Linked DNA regions of Homo sapiens: region 1 is linked to region 2. Evidence: promoter capture Hi-C in 16 types of primary human blood cells and fetal thymus (Javierre and others, 2016). All regions are on one chromosome and are shown on one strand. The core of a region is centred on a gene start or on the middle of the fragment in contact, and the rest is flanking DNA. Distances in the headings are between cores, read along the strand shown.

What was found. Contacts are between HindIII fragments. The CHiCAGO score rates a contact against its expected background, and 5 or more counts as called.
Region 1: the fragment with the promoter of ZZZ3 here is called in contact with the fragment with the promoter of RNPC3 in region 2 in 1 of 17 cell types (naive CD8 T cells); the score reaches 5.8 in naive CD8 T cells.

What each region holds. Positions count from the first base shown.
Region 1 is chr1:77,680,935-77,686,470 of GRCh38, forward strand. ZZZ3 (zinc finger ZZ-type containing 3) reads right to left here and starts at 1,724. Exons shown (of 15, transcript NM_015534.6): 1 at 1,651-1,724. RefSeq lists enhancers at 1,780-1,859, 2,677-3,450, 2,880-2,979 and silencers at 2,240-2,659, 2,670-2,729. The HindIII fragment of the contact is 10,120 bases long and covers 1-5,076 here.
Region 2 is chr1:103,523,509-103,529,432 of GRCh38, forward strand. RNPC3 (RNA binding region (RNP1, RRM) containing 3) reads left to right here and starts at 2,191. Exons shown (of 15, transcript NM_017619.4): 1 at 2,191-2,754; 2 at 4,187-4,234. The coding sequence starts at 2,563. It overlaps RNPC3-DT (RNPC3 divergent transcript), which reads right to left and starts at 2,000. Exons shown (of 4, transcript NR_168321.1): 1 at 1,888-2,000. It also overlaps the pseudogene RN7SKP285. RefSeq lists a silencer at 1,983-2,082 and an enhancer at 2,403-2,642. The HindIII fragment of the contact is 7,657 bases long and covers 1-5,924 here.

The sequences.
Region 1 (5,536 bases), core at 474-2,973, about 26 Mb before region 2:
ACTGCAAAAATAAGTTACTTGTGATATTTTCACAAGATTATACTACCAAAAAAATCAGTACAAACAAAAAAAATCTGCGTAAGTATGCATACGTAAGTCTTGACAAACAGGCATATATCACTAAATAAAAATTTAATTTAGTTAAAAAATGTTTACTGATTGCCAATATTGTGTTGGTACCCCATTAAAACAACACTTTCTCCCCTTCATTTAAGAAACAAAAACTAAACCAAAATATGGAAATATCTGGAATGATACACAGCAACCACAAAGGCTGGTTACAGAGATTTAAGACTGAGGAATGGAACTTTGTGGTACCGTGAAACAAGCACTGTGTTACTCTATACTATATACCTCTCTGTATTATGTATAGGAAAAAAAAACACTTTTGTAGTTTTAAAAAACAAACTATGAATAAATTAACTAGTCACCTGATTCGTTTTGTAATTAACTCCCCACTCCTTATTTAGTACTGCAACTACTAAATAAAATCCAAATACTACTTAAGAATACGAAAAAACAAAGGTATACTGTAAATTCACTTCTGAGACATTAGGGAATTGGAGAGAAATATTAAATTGATTTCAAACTCATTTAAGAAAAATAAAGCTCAAACTCTGATGCCAAAATTTATGAGTTTGCTCTTTACTAAAAAGTTGACCTGAGGCCGGGCGCGGTGGCTCACGCCTGTACAGTGCTGAAATCCCAGCACTTTGAGAGGCCAAGGCAGGTGGATCACTTGAGGTCAGGAGTTTGAGACCAGCCTGGCCAACATGGTGAAACCCCGTCTCTACTAAAAACACAAAAATTAGCCGGGCGTGGTGAAGCGCGACTGTAATCCCAGCTACTCGATACTCGAGAGGCTGAGGCAGGAGAATCGCTTGAACCCGGGAGGCGGAGGTTGCAATGAGCCGAGATCGCCCCACTACACTCCAGCCTAGGCGACAAGAGCGAGACTCCGTCTCAAAAAAAAAAAAAAAAAAATCACATGAAACAGTCTGTTACCTTAAATATATAACCTAAAACAACCATCCCTAAACTTCAAAGATGGCAACCTCAGTAACACAGTAGTAATTAAAACCCTACCGATAACTGAGTTAATAGGCACGTACAAAATGATGAAAAGCAGGATTTTATTCTGACCACAGGTGTTGTCAGAGACATAATGGGCCCTCCAAATACTGCCAAAAGTTACTGAAAATACGAAGTCAGGGTGATGAGTAAATGACACCCAGAGAAAATAGATGGGAGGAGTTCTGTTTCAGGAGACTGGAGTCAGGTACTGCAGCAGAAAACGCGACACAATAGTTAACCGGTCTGGAATACTTTAGAAAATGGCAAGAAGGGAAAAACTGACAAGAACATCTTAAAGTAAGAGGAACGGTATCCAATGGAATCATCAGGTCTGCGCGAGCACGGCTCCCGGACTTCCAGTGAGTGGGACAGGGTGGAACTATCACTGCGTGGGGAGAAGGACCTGGCTGAGGGGTGCATATGCTTTTGCAGGTGGTGGAGCGCCCGCAGGGGGATGGGGAGGGCAGTGTTGCCTCAATGGGGTTACTGTATTCCCTTCAAGACTATGGGAAGCTGATGCAGCACGTATCCCGGCACCAAGAGGCACTCGCCCCGGGCCCCTCCCTAACGACTTGCCTTGTAGAAAGAGTTGCAGGTCCCAGGCCCCCGGAACCCAAGGCTCCGCCATCCAGGACAACTGCTCTGCCAACGAGGTCCCGCGAGAATCGAGAGATCTCGCGATACAAACCCACTCGCATCTCGCGAGCTTCCACTAGACCCAACATGGCGGTACAGAAAAAAATCAGTATTTCGGAACTTAAAAAGCACTTCACTAACGGAGTAGTGAACATTTAAAACACTGAGACAGTAGGAAGTCTTTCCGCTTTATACGTCTCCTCCTTTCCCCTTGTACAGAAAAGCAGAAATCTTAAAAACCTCCGATTACCACGATTATACTACATAAACAGAGCGCAGTGCGCTGCCCCAGGCAGCCTCCCTGTCACGTGGAAACATTTTCGGCGTGCCCGTCACGTGGGCCGCTACTGAGCGAGCGCGCTCCCGACGCCCTCCCAAAAGCCCTCCCCGCCCCCCCTTTCGCCCGCGCACACGTGCGCGCGCACCCCCGCCCCACGTGGGGGCTTCGCCGTCGCAGCCGTCGCAGCCGTCGCAGTCGTCGCCTCCAGCCCACCCCCTCCCGGTACTTGGCTCCAAATCCGGGTCCCAAGCCGATCGTTTCCCACCCCCATTCCCTCCCCCTTCATTCTCCCTCCCCCGTGTCTGGCCCTCACCACGTGTCCCGAGCTCTTGCTCACCTTTCACGCGGGGTCGGACGCAACGGGCCACTTGGGGAGGCGCCGCCGCCGTGGCCGCTCTCCGCCCCCGCCACGGCACTTGCTCGGGTGGCCACCGCTGCAGGAAGCTCGATAGCGGCGCCGCGGCGCTTCCAGGTGGGTCCCCGCCTCCCGCTCCTGCCACTTCCCGCAGCACCAGCGGCTCCTTCCGGTCCCCTCCTTTCTCCTCGTTGGGACTGGCGGGCGGCGGCGGCGGCGGCGACCGCTGCTGCTGCTGTTGCTGCTGCTGCAGGCGCGCTCACTACACCGCCTGCTGGTAACCGCGGCCCGTGCAGCGCCCGCGGGTCGGGCGCCGCCGAGGCCCTCCCCGGCCAGTCCCTGCCCCTGGGCGAAGTTTGGTCTTCCGAGGGCGGGTTGCAGTCCATCCCTTGCAACCGTCCAACCTGGCCCTAGCAGAGGAAAGGCGTCCTCGTAGCTCCGCCATTGGAAATCGGCTTCATCCTGCCCTTTGTGGCCTCCTGAGAGATTTGTAAACCCCACCTCCCTTAGCACTGTGGTCTCAAGCCAGGAGAACATCCATACATGTATTTATGATCGTGCTTCTGCCTCGCCTCGTTCACCTCTGGCTTGTACCACAGCACGCAGGCTCGAACCACTTCGGGCCTTTGTGCTTGCCGATTTCTCTGGCAGAACATTTCCTCCAGATTTTTTTTAACTCCTCGATGTTCGATGCATATTTCAGGTCCCTTCTCAGAGGGCTGCCCAGACCACTGTATCCAAAAAAAGTACACCTGCACCATTGCTTTAACTCTTCACCTGCTTTTATTTCTTCATAACAGTTACAACTTCCAGACCTTATTTGTCAGTATCCTCACCACCAGAAATGTAAAATTTTTAAAAGCAGGGACTTAGTAAACTGTTTTGCTCATTGCTGTATCCCCAGAATTGTGTCTGGCACAAAGCAGTGCTCAGTAATATCAAAACAGATCTACCAACTATATTGAGCATGTAGGAAAATAAAGCCCAACACACATTAATGAAGATAAATAACTTCATCATTTATGAGCTGTGGAAAAACAGCTAAACCTCCTTCCGTGGCTATAAAGATTATGTTCCAAAAATATAAAATCCAGTGGTAGAAGCCGTTAACTGGGGCTCTTCTTTGACAATTGTCCAGTGCTGTTTCATTACTTTTGTTTTCCTTTGCAACACTATTTTTTTTTTCGGGCAAGTGGATACGTGTTGTGCCTTCTTTTATGTTGCTAATAAAAGTTATTAAATGTTTTAAATGGTGTTTTGTATTTTAGCTTTGAGTTCAACTCAAAGTAACATCTACTTCAAGAAAAAGGGTTACATGTTTTTAACACATCAAGTATTTATTGAACATACTAGTGTTTCTGGGTGGCAGTATGTCAAAAAAAAACGGGGGTGGGGGAGGCCGGGCGCGGTGTCTCAAGCCTGTAATCCCACCACTTTGGGAGGCCTTGACAGGCAGATCACCTGAGGTGTCAGGAGTTAAAGACCAGTCTGGCCAACATGGCGAAACTTCGTCTCTACTAAAAATAGAAAAATTAGCCAGGTGTGGTGGCACACGCCTGTTATCCCATGTAATCCCAGCTACTTGGGAGGCTGAGGCAGGAGAATTGCTTGAACCCGGGAGGTGGAGGTTGCAGTGAGCCGAGATCGTGCCACTGCACTCCAGCCTGGGCGACAGAGCAAGACTGTCTCAAAAATAAAAAAGGAAAGATAAAACATACTAGTGCCCTATGCTAAGACTAGAGATACAAAAATAAACACGTTTCCCTACCTTGCTCTTTCTACTTATAGAGCCAAATCCTATTATAATAACCATACTTAGCATGCTTTTGATTCCTATGTGCCAGGCCAAATGCTGTGTACTTTTCTATGTTACCCTATTTTAGGCTTCTGACAATCCTATGAGATATATACTATTTGTGGTAGGCCTTGAGATGCACTTTTCAGACCCCACTTCAGGAATAAAGAACTGAGCTGCTGCTGCCAAGAGTCATACCCACAGCCAGCCATCGGTTGTCAGCCCCTTTCAGGCATGCCAGTGTCACAGAGTCATAATGTTCTCAGAGAGGCCACATCCAGTGACTGATCAATGCAGGGATAAAAGGCTCAGCCCTCTCACCTCCATTTGGTACAATTCTGATGGATTTTCTCCTCCTGCAGAACAACTTGCAGGATCAGCTAAGGCATTCCATTGAGACTTCACTGAAGTCCAACTTCTGCCCAGTTCAGCTTTTCTTCCCTCCCACAAGTAATGATCCCAAGAGCATTCCCTAATAAATCTCCTGCACACTAGTCATGTAAGAGTGTGCTTCCTGGGAACCGAGCCTGTAATATTATTTGTATTTTTCTATTGATAAAGCAAGTAACTTGCCCATTTGAACTGCAGAAGTTTCTATATAGATACATAAAGTACTGTGGGAGGGGAGGAGGGCTTCTGGGAAGGGCTTCTTACAAGGATTGGCATTTAAGTTACAGGATGACTTTGCTAAGAAGAAAAAAATAATTCTTGGATGAGGGAACTGCATGAATGAGTATGTGAATGGGAGAAAACTACAAGTAACCCCAAATGGCTGGACTGTAGGGTCTTTGGGGTAATCCCTACAGGATAAGGAGAAAGCAGTTCATGGATGGTAAAGAGGGTAGCCAAGAAAAAACTCTAGGCCTGAGAATAACTCTTAGCCAAGTGGAAAGGGATGGGAGCCCCTGAGATCCTCAATTAAGAGTAGGAAAGAGAAGCTTCATTGCTCCTGGAAAAGGGAACCACTGCCAACCTTGCTGGCAAATACCACTCCCTAATTACGACATGTATATTCCTACATGGCCTTTGTTATTTTTTTTTTCTTTTGGAGACAGGATCTCGTTCTGTCGCCCAAGCTGGTGTGCACTGGCACAGTCTAGGCTCACTGCAGCCTCCTGTGTCCCTTGTAGCTGAGATACGCACCACTGTGCCCAGTTAATTTTTGTATTTTTTATAGAGATGAGGTTTTGCCATGTTGCCCAGGCTGGTCTCAAAACTCCTGGCCCCAAGCTTCCACCCACCTCAGCCTCCCAAAGTACTGGGATTACAGGCGTGAGCCACCACGCCTGGCCCCCTTTGTTATTTTGACCTAGGATCACGTTATATTGAAGATGGAAGATACATTAACATCAACTAATTCAGCAGTTTGTACAATATTTTCTGAAGCACTGGAAAT
Region 2 (5,924 bases), core at 941-3,440:
ACAGAATGTGCACTATGTCTGGAACATTTTACTAAACATAAGAGTCACAGGGAGGATGTGACGGTCATTTTGCATGACACCTGTCACCAACTGATCCCAACAGTTGATTTGGCTGATCTGGCTAACTAGCTGGGTTCCCCTTCCTTCCTAACTGCCCCATATATGTCTCTTCCAAAGCTGCCCACTCGGCTGAGGAGGATGACTTACCCCCATAAAGGAGGATGATTTTTCTGTAAGGGCATACGTGTAGCAGTGCTCCCTTGCTAGAAGCTCCAAACAAGTCTTCAAAGAACACACACAAAAAAGCCGCTGAAGGATAGTGTTTAAAATAGCATGACCACTCCAATCGGTTTATAACACTACCCTATTTTTTCCAAAGCACTTATTATTCTCTGAAAAGAACTTTATTTACATATTTATTCTGTCTTGATTTTAGAAAGTAAGCATTGAGAGGGCAGGAATTGATTGTCTTCTTCTTCTTCCTTGCCTCAACTTCTCAACATCTGCATGTCCCATGACTCCATTATGGGCACAATTCTATCTATACCCTTTGTCATTCTTCAGATATAAATACCATATAGGTTGATGCCATACCTCGTGGTAACCTTTCCCAAGAATGCCAAACACACACATTCAACTTCCTACTTGAAACAGGGATACTGAATAGATACCTTAAACTTAATATATGTTCCTCTATTCCCAATGTCCCACTACAGTTTCTAACCTAGCTATACTTGGTCAATCTTCTCACATTCAGTAAATGGCATCATCATCTACAGATGGATAATATCTAGCTTAAGCCAAAAATCCAGAATTTATCCTTGCTTACTATTCTTCATCTGCAAGTTCCTATCAACTACTTCTAAAACGTATCTCAATTCCAGTTCCTTCTCTACATGTCCACTTTCACCAAACTATTATGGTAGTGTTTTTCTCCAGACTTCTACAGTAGTCCAACTGGTCTTTCTGCTTCTGTTTTTTGCATTGCAACCGGAGAAATTTTCATACCTAAACTTTGATTCTCTCCCCTCAACACACACCTACTTAAAGAATTTGTCAGTTTCTAAATGTTCCTCAAATAAAAAGGGCTCCTAACAAATCTACAGCGTCTACGTGGTCTGGCTCTACCTATCTGATATTTTGGTGGGTGTGTGGGGAAGGTTCTTCTCATGTTTGTCTTCTAGTTTTCATTAATATCTGTCTCTCTCCTTTTCCCCAACCAATGCGGGATGACAGCAGATTGCTGGTATACTGCTTACTGCTGTATCTCTAACATTTATTTAAGTGGCAAAAAGAACTGTAAGAGGAACTCTGGTTCTCCAGACTGTAGCAGCTACATCTAGCATAAAACCTCTCTTTAGAATCCTCAAGGCCCTCTCTGTATGGGGTGAGGGGTACATTCCTGACCCTCCGGGGATGATCCCTGCCTCACTCCATTCAGAATCTAGGCAGAACAGTGGATTAGAATGTAGACCCCCAGTCAGAACACCAAGGGTCAAAACTTAGTTCTTCCACTTTCTAGCTGTGTGATTTAACCTCTTTGTACATCAGTGTCCTCAGCTGTAAAATAGGGAGAAAAGTACCTACACCTACACACACACACACATACACACACACACACACACACACCCCTACACACACACACATACACACACATGCAATAATTTATTTATTAGGTTACCTCTCCCTAGAGGCTGCCATTTCTGCGAAATGAACCCTGGCAGGGGCCTATCCGTCTGCTAAATGCCTACTGATTCAAGAAAAAAGTCTGAACTCTCAACGTTTTGCCCCTTAAACTGAGTTCTCCTCCCTACAATGGTGTCTAATGAGTTGACAGAATAACTGGCTAGCTTTATATTTTACCATCTAAATACTGTAAGAACATACCCGGTATTTCCACACCCAAGTTCTCCTCCTTGCTATTCAGGCCAATTCACTTTCCCAAGGCCAGGGATTAAGAGCCGCACGGTCAGCTCCAGATAGCGCTCGCCGCCGTGCGCCCCGCCCCGCCGTGCGCCCCGCCCCGCCGTGCGCCCCGCCCCGCCGTGCGCCCCGCCCCGCCGTGCGCCCCGCCCCGCCGTGCGCCCCGCCCCGCCGTGCGCCCCGCCCCGCCGTGCGCCCCGCCCCGCCGTGCGCCCCGCCCCGCCGTGCGCCCCGCCCCGCCCTGTGACGGTCCCAGCCCGCACATGCGCAGTCGTGAGTCCTCTTGTCCTTGAGCGTCAACCTTCTTTCCCTGAAGTGGCTGGGGTTCCTGTTTCCTTCTTTGATTGACAACTTGTGTTAACCCTCGCACATCTCTGGGCCAATTTTTGCTTGTAAGTCTTTCCGGAGACCCCTGGAATTTAAATCATTAGCACCGCGCCCTTCCCCGAAGAGTCTTCGAAGGGTTGCCGCTTTTCGGTGGCGCAGTTCTCGCGAGAAGGTGACTTTCTTTCTCGGTATTTCCTGGTTTCCAGAATCCTTAGCGCGAGGCGGAAAAAATATTTCTCCCAGCTTGTGTTGATGCCGCGATTTTGACTGAGACTTCTTCCCACGATTTCTGTTTTTGCTTCTCCAAGGAAAATGGCAGCTCCCGAGCAGCCGCTTGCGATATCAAGGGGATGCACGAGCTCCTCCTCGCTTTCCCCGCCTCGGGGCGACCGAACCCTTCTGGTCAGGCACCTGCCGGCTGAGCTTACTGCTGAGGAGAAAGAGGACTTGCTGAAGTACTTCGGGGCTCAGTCTGTGCGGGTCCTGTCAGATAAGGGGCGACTGGTAAGGGCGCGCCCCTCCGGAGTCTCCCGGGAAGGCATTTGGGAAGTGACCGGGGAGGGGGAGCGCTGACAAGAGTAAAATGGAAACGAGTGGGGAAGATGGACTTGTGTGATGAGAGCTCCCCCATCCTACCTCTTTTTTATCAAAATATCTGCTCTGCGAAGTGGAGTTTTAATCGGCTCGAGTCTGGATTAGTCATAGCACTGCAGAAAAGGGCAAGTGAGAACGACAAAGCAGAAGAATGGAAATTAGCTTAGTTATATTGAGTTTTCGGATCCATCCTGAGAGCCTCACAACTTTTTTGAATTTGGGGTTATTTCTCCTGGACTCAAGAGTATTCTTACAAATGTGCATCAAGGGATTTTTTAAAGTCCTACTTCATTTATAAGCCAATGTTAAATCGTTCATTAAAATAGAGGAGAAGCTACATTGGTGACTTGCGTAAATTAAATGCAGAATTTCAACTAGAAAAAGAGGCTTTTCATAAAAATTTCCCGATGACATCTTTTAGGGAACAATTTTTTAGGGCTGTTAAGAGTACCTGTGTAGGAATTTACACAATTACTTTGTTTTGCTTTATATCCAAAGATATTTTAGATTTCTCTTCATTAAAATAGGAATAGCGATGGTGCAAGACTCAGTGGTTTTAAAGTTTCCCTAGGTGATTTTAATGTTAATGTGCAGCCCAAGTTGAGAGTTACTGAATTAGAAGAAAGACCAATTTTGATCAGTTTAAATGTCACTTATGCCTGCAAATTAAAAAAAAAAAATTATATATGGCTCAATTTAAGTACATCAGGTCATCGTGTATCAGATTAGACAAAATTAGAATGTGCGATATAATTATTAAAGTAACTTTTAATAAGCATTGACCAGAGCTCTTCCTTAGCATAGTGATTCTTTTACTGTTGATTTGTGTTTCTTTTCTGATGGTTTTTAAAATCCGTATAATTTATGTTTAAAAATAGACTTCTCCCATTGAACATTATTACAAAGATAAAGCACAAAGGAAATATGCACCTTGAAGAACGATTTCTCTGTTGGTGAATGTTTTTAAACTACGCATTGTTATGTATAGAGGAAAGTTTAAAATCTTTAGATCTGTCATAAATGAAGGAAATAAATTTTTAGTTGGTTAAAAGTGACCCTCTGTGTAGAACAGGTCTTTAAACTTTTGGTCTTTTGAACTATTTGCATGTGTAAAACGTGTGTCTTTATATGATAGAGGTTGCATAGCTTTCATCTCAAGTCTGACTCAAAAAGTATTGAAAACCACTGGACTGAAATTAGTAATCAGTTAAATGGTCTTGAGTTTTCATCCTTTCCCGTGATTTTATTAACATGTCACATTACTCCACTGGTAAAAAGTCAGATTTCTTTGTGAGAAACTGAAATTATATTGGAAGTAATTTGTACCTTAACTCTGTTTCAGAAACATACAGCTTTTGCCACATTCCCTAATGAAAAAGCAGCTATAAAGGTATGACTTTTTCTTGACGATTAAAGTTGTCAACAGGATCCTCTTATACAATCTTGGTTCAGATAATGTTTAACTGTGGTTTTTAAGAAGCAAAAGCGTTTGTATTCCAACAGTTTCCCCAACAGACTACATTTGATTTGTCAGTTGGCAGATCTTGCCCAGTCCTTTAGTAGATTATCTATAAAGAAAAACTAACTGCGTATGTAATTAAAATAACAATTTCTAAATGATTTAGATTGATAAATATCTCTGTGACTGTTACAAGGTAAGATGTTTCAAGTGTTAAAAGGAGAATATACATTTCTTTATAATGCCAGGGAATCATTCACAGGAGGTGATCTTTTAGCTAGAAGTCTAATGATTAATTGGATTTTTTCAGAAGGAAACAAGTGGAGATGGGCCTTCTGGGCTTGCAGAACACCAAATAAAGCTGTGAGACATTGGAAGTTATAAGTGGAGCAGGAGCTAAGGGTTGAGATGGAAATGGAACTTGAAAAATAGATTTGAGTCTGGGAGAGAGGTATTGAGTTTGGTTTAGTAGGTGGACACTTGATACTTTTGAGCTGGCTCATAATATGATCAGGCCTGTTAAAGATATCTGGTATAGTTCATATCATGGATTGGATGTGCAGAATTATTAGAGGTAGGAGACCAAATGGAAGGCTGTTATAATGGCCAAGGCAAGAATAACTATCTGAAGAAGACAGTAAGAAGACAAAGGGGGAAGTAAATATATATTCAATAGAGATTGAGTTTGTAGGTTTTATAATATAGGGGTTGAGAGAGAATAGTTCAGGATATTTAGATTGAGGATTGAGTTATTTGGGTTGTTATATTAGCTGACATGAGGATCCAGAGGATGTTTGCAAAGGCATAGGATGAATTCACTTGTCATCTGTTAACTTGGAGGGGTCATTGGGCTACTTTTATGGAAATATTTAAAAATATTAATGAGAGCTGAGGCAAGGTGAAGAATGGAAAGATTCTTCAACCATGTGAATAGATATGTTTGCCCAAAGGATAATAAGCTAGGAGAGAAGAATGGGAAGGAGCAGTTAAAGTAGGAGAACTAGAAAGGAAATTATCACTGATGCAAAGAGAAGTGTGTTTTAAGAAGATGAAATCCTGTGATGATGCAAAATGAGGAATGAACACATCTATTAAAGTCTTTTTGCCATGAAACAATAGAAATGACCCAAATTCTCATCGGTAAAAGGAAGGGAAGCCTTAAATCACATTATATCCATATACTGGACTGCAACTGTCTGAGAATGATGTCAAATGGTATGTGTTAATATGGAATGATAGCCCAGATAGAGTACATGAATAAAGTTGTGAAACATTATATATGATGTAACCTCAGATTTTTTGAAACTAATAGTATACATGTTAGCATATACACAGAAAAAATATGGCAGAACTATACACCAAAATGTTAAAAACATCTTTCTCTGAGAGTAGGATTACAGAGGGCTTTCATATTATATTAATATGTACTTTTATAATGGTAGGTAATTTTTTTTCAGAAAAAAAGTATTTTTAAAAATATATCATAATACATTGTAAATAAAGTATGGTAATGAAAAACGCATTGTTTTAGGGTCAAGAATAACTTGGAGGAGAGGACATGGAGCCAGTCATTGTCTTTGGAAATGTCTGTAGTGAAAGGAAGCAGTAAGAGGTTAACGGC